2 separate regions of the Homo sapiens genome follow, and region 2 is linked to region 1. The links are contacts of gene promoters, found by promoter capture Hi-C in human tissues and cell types (Jung and others, 2019). All regions are on one chromosome and are shown on one strand. Each heading gives the region's core, a stretch centred on a gene start or on the middle of the fragment in contact. The rest is flanking DNA. Distances are from core to core; before and after follow the strand shown.

The links. Contacts are between HindIII fragments. The study calls those that stand out against the background at their distance.
Region 2: a fragment that was not itself captured here is called in contact with the fragment with the promoter of PLXDC1 in region 1 in 3 of the 25 tissues and cell types used here (dorsolateral prefrontal cortex, neural progenitor cells and spleen).

The regions. Positions count from the first base shown.
Region 1 is chr17:39,150,335-39,152,906 of GRCh38, forward strand. It overlaps PLXDC1 (plexin domain containing 1), which reads right to left and starts at 1,303. Exons shown (of 14, transcript NM_020405.5): 1 at 1,028-1,303. The coding sequence starts at 1,103. The HindIII fragment of the contact is 18,756 bases long and covers 1-2,572 here.
Region 2 is chr17:38,983,913-38,986,484 of GRCh38, forward strand. No RefSeq gene overlaps it. Among named protein-coding and RNA genes, the nearest start is that of FBXO47, 18 kb to the left of the region's middle. The HindIII fragment of the contact is 7,886 bases long and covers 1-2,572 here.

The sequences.
Region 1 (2,572 bases), core at 53-2,552:
CTGACACTGTGCCTGGTGCCAGCACACTCCTGAGACACAGCAGGTCAACCACAGCACTCACCTCAACAGCGCCTCCCTCACCCCACCTGAGGGGCACCCATGCCAATGATGCACAGGTATCTATCTTCTTAATCATCTCTGCTGAGGGGCCAGGCTGCAAATTACCCATCTCCCCAACCCCAGAGAAAGTCTAGGTGCTTAGGGGAGAACAGAGACTATGAAAATTATACCATGAGGGATTCCAGGTAGATCTCAGAAAGGACTTCCAGGTGGGAGAGATGAGTTTGGAGAACTGGTAGGGGGGAAGAGGAGTGTGCAGAATGGGACGCCTCCCTCCACCCCCTACCCCAGTGCCCCATCTAGAGCCAGAGTAGCTGAAAGCCAAAGGCTGCCAGGGCAAATGGGAGCAGGTGTGAGGAGGGGGACTCTTGAGGCTGGGGGTGCAGAAGCAGCAAGTTGCTTCTTCCTGGGCCCACTGCCTCTCTACTGACACCAAATAGGCAAGGGAAGGTGACCGAATGGCTGCTGCCTTCCCAGGCAGAGACGCTGTGTCCCCACCATCCCCCTGGCTGCTCCCACCTATCCCTAGCCTGGATCAGCTTTGGGGTCGGGGGTGTGGCAGAGAAGAGGAAAAGAAGGCATGGCTGGGGCAGGGGCCTCCCCAGGCTCCCATCTCATCAGAATTCAGCCTTGCCTGGGGTGATCAGGGGTCCTGATGACTCTCCCGCTGTCCCCTTTCAGAGCCCATGGCCACATAGAGCCCCCTCTCCTAAGGTCCCTCCAGTATCCTTCCAGGAGAGAAGGAGAGGTCCGGGCATCGGTGTCTCCACCGTCACTCACACACCCTATGTGTTTGGGAAAGTGGGGTCCCTATCCACCTGCCCACAGCCCACAGCTCTCCTGGCCTCCTGCGGACAATGCCCCCCTCGCGGACATCGCCAGGCCGTCCACACCTGCCCATGCCCACACCTGACTGCCCGTCCCTCCCCGCCCCCGGCCCACCCGGGCCGGCTCCCGCCAGTCCTACCTGCTCCGGGCTGGGGGCTCAGCGCCCGGGCAGCCTCCCTGAGCACCAGCACCAGGAGCCAGAGCTCGCCTCGCATGGTGGGTGCCCGGACCTGCCCCCGGCCTGCTTGCTGCCCCGGTCCTGACGAGGGAGGGGGCCCTGGCTCAGGCTGCGGCCGCGCGGTCCCCGGGGCTGGCGGAGGGGCGGGCGGCGAGGAGACGGCGGAGCGCGGGGCCGGGCGAGCCGGCAGGAGCGGCGAGAGCGCGAGCGGAGCTGGAGGCTGCGGCCTCCGGGAGCAGGCGGGGAGCTGGGGGGGCCGCTGGGTCGGTGGGGGTGGGGGGGAGCTGGGGCAGGGGGCGGGGCGGGGGGCGCGGCGTCGTTGGGGGCTCTCCCGGCGCCTGCCCTCAGCCCTAACGGAGCGCTCCCCTAGAGCTCTGCAGCCGCTCCCAAGGCAAGGGGTGCAGAGTAGGGGACAGGGCGGGAGCCCCTCGGGCTGAGAGAACCCCTAGAAGCATCAGCCGCCCCGCGCTCCTCACTGAGCTCCTGGCTCCCTTTCCCTCCTCCGTTCCGCCGGGAAAGCTGCAGAGAGAAGGCCCGAGGACTGGACCCCTGGAAGGGACAGGCGCCCCATCCCTGGGTCACGGGCCCCTGACTGTTCCCCGCCCCCAGCTCCTCCAAGCTCTGCGACTTCCTGAGCTGTTCTTCGGAATTCTGTGCGTCTCTGATGCTTTGTCCTCCAGCCCCCACCCCCAGAAATCTCCCCCTGCAGCAAAGACCCCCAGCTTTTCTCCCCAAGAGGGGCCTGAATCCCACCCCCCTTCCATGACTCCACCTTATCCCTCCACCCCCCATTTCCAGCACCGATTTGCCCCCCAAGCCTAGCAGACGTGAGGGTGGAGGGGGCCTGGCTACCCCTTACTCTGCAACAGTCTGGACCCCTCCCCACGAGTAGGTAACCCAGGCCTCCTGCCTCTCTGGGGCCTCCAGGCCTACTCAGGGCCAGACCCAATCAATCTTCAGAGCCAGCCCCAGACGAGGAAATGGCTCACCCCACCTGTCACCACCTTCTGACAGGCTCTGGGGATAGATAATCTTTTTATTTTTTCTTCCAGGACAGAATAAAAATACCCGCAATGTAGGATATTTAATAGACGGCAAGGAATCAGGTCAGGACACGAAGATGCCTCTTCCCTCCCCTGACCTACTTCGTTCTTGTGACGGCAAGGAGCTGGGGCGCTGGAGAGTGGGAGACGGGGTGAGGGGGCATCCTGGCTTCTAGTGGGCTGGGGCCTAGGGACTAGAAAACCGCGGAGAGGAAGGGTGCGAACGCTGAGCGCCATTGGAGAAATTTTCCAGGAGGAGGGATATGGGCGGGGACAGGAGAAGGTACACTGTGGGCTGGAAGAGACGGATTCCGTGGCACTGAGGTTAAAAAAAAAAAAAAGAAAAGAAAAGAAAAAAAAACACCTAAGAAAGGAAACAACTAAAGGCTCTCTAATCTCTTAGAACGCCGGTTCCTCCTTCCGCCGGGCCCAGAGTCCCAGAGACTACCTCCTCCAGCCCTAA
Region 2 (2,572 bases), core at 32-2,531, 170 kb before region 1:
ATAGTGCACATAATTGTGCCTGTGAATACACTGCAAATTAAAACCTGGGAAATATAGCAAGACCCTGTCATAAATAAATAAATAAATAAATTCCTTGAAATATGTCACACTATGCAGATTTCACTATGCATATTATGCTCAGTGTAAGCAAAATTATTTTTATTTTTGGAGACAGGGTCTTGCTCTGTCACTCAGGCTGGAGTACAGTGGCACAAATCATGGCTCACTGCAGCCTCAATCTTATAGGCTCAAGCAATCCTCCTGCCTCAGCCTCCCAAAGTGCTCGGATTACAGATGTGAGCCACTGTACCTGGCTGCAAATTTAATTAGACATAAAAATATAATATTAAGTTATGATAGAAAAAGCTTTGGGATATTTCCAGAACTTCCCCTCTCTCCACCTTTTTTTTTTTTTTTTTTTTTGAGACTGAGTCTCCCTCTGTTACCCAGGCTGGAGTTCAGTGGTATAATCTTGGCTCACTGCAACCTCTGCCTCCCAGGTTCAAGCAATTCTCCTGCCTCAGCCTCCTGAGTAGCTGGGATTACAGGCACCTGCCACCACACCTGGCTAATTTTTTGTATTTTTTAGTAGAGACAGGGTTTTACTATATTGGCCAAGCTGGTCTTGAACTCCTGTCCTCAGGTCATCTGCCCACCCTAGCCTCCCAAAGTGTTGGGATTATAGGTGTGAGCCACCGTGCTCTGTCAATCTGTCAATTTTTTTTCATTACAAAGTCAAAGACAACCAACCCAAAATTTTAAAAGCTCATATTACAAAACGAAGAAACACCAAAGCAGTGTTATAAAATTTGTGTTACATTAAAAAAATTTATGTTTAATAAGTTAGAATTCCAAACCAAGGAATACATTGCAATATAACTGTGCCAGTCATAAGGTAATAATAGGACATATGAAATATTAATTCACAGGGCACTAAAGAAAGTGTGTGGGCTGGTATTGGGACATATGCTTAAGGCTGTATAATGAATATCTTCATTTCTTCTTTTTTTTTTTTTTCAAAGCAACAACATAAAGTTGTAGGGATATCTTCATTCTTGCTCATTTTTGAGACTGTTGTGCTCTCATTTGGAGATGACGTCAAAGTTTGAATTTGATGACCCTTTGTGACAATGGGGGCTCAGCTAAGCAGCTCTCTGGACTCCCATTATAATAAGCTGTACATACTTTCTGATGTAATAGTAGAGATACTTGGTACTTTATCCTAGAAAAATGTTTTTATTATCAAACATGACAGGCTACTTATGTGGCTGTATTTTATTTATTTTATTTATTTATTTTTTGAGACGGAGTCTTGTTCCATCACCCAGGCTGGAGTACAGTGATATGATCTCAGCTCACTGCAACTTCTGCCTCCCAGGTTCAGGTGATTCTCCTGCTTCAGCCTCCCGAGTAGCTGGAATTACAGGCATGCATCCCCACACCCGGCTAATTTTTGTGTTTTTTGTAGAGACAGGGTTTCACCATGTCGGTGAGGGTGGTGTTGAACTCCTGGCCTCAAGTGATCCGCCCTCCTTGGCCTCCCAAAGTGCTGGGATTATGGGAGTGAGGCACCACGTCTGTCCTGAGGCTGTATTTTAGGTATTGTTCCTTTGTTAACGTTGGAAAATGGCCGAGGAAGCTAATGGGCTGCACGCAGCCAAAGGACATAGTGGCCCGGTTTGTACCCTTCGAGGTACCTGAGGAGCCTCAGTAAAACTTTACCCCGAAAAGGGCCATTTTCTCCTTTTAGCCACTTGCATAAAGAAGAATGATAGTTTACTATGTATTGAAATTGTCCATCACAAGTATTTTTTCTGAGGGTTATGGTCATCACACAGCACCACAAAGGCATTAGGAAAAGAAGCAGTCTAGACAAGTCCAATCAAGTAGATGGCCTTGGTGTTGACACTGAGCCAGATTTACAAATAAAGCCCAAACTTAAACAACAACAAAAAAACTATATTGTTAGGAATGTCTTTTAAAATTACATTTATGGCCAGGTGTGGTGGCTCATACCTATAATCCCAGCACTTTGATAGGCTGACATGGGAGGATCACTTGAGCCCAGGAGTTTGAGACCAGCCTGGGTAACATGATGAAACCAAAAATGTTACCAAAAAATGTAAAAAATGAACTAGGCATGGTGGCACCCACCTGTAGTCCCAGCTACCTGGGAGGCTGAGGTGGGAGGATCACGTGAGCCTGGGAGGTTGAGGCTAGAGTGAGCCACGTTCACGCCACTGCACTCCAGCCTGGGTGACAGAGTGAGACCTTGTCTCAAAAAAAATTATTAAATATTGAAGAGATCAAAATAATATTTGCAAAATATATAAAGTAATAAAGAATCATGATACAATGGACCCTTATGTATTCCCCACCACTCATGTAAGAAACGTGAGGAACAACATCATTGTGAACTTTGAAGTCCACTGGGATTCCCTCCTAGGTCCCCTCCCTTCTTTCTCTCCTTGGAGGTAACCATTATCCTGAATTCATGTTTTTAAATTCCTTTGTTTTTAATTATAGTTTTACCACATGTGTTTGTATTCCTAATATTTATATGTATATAAGT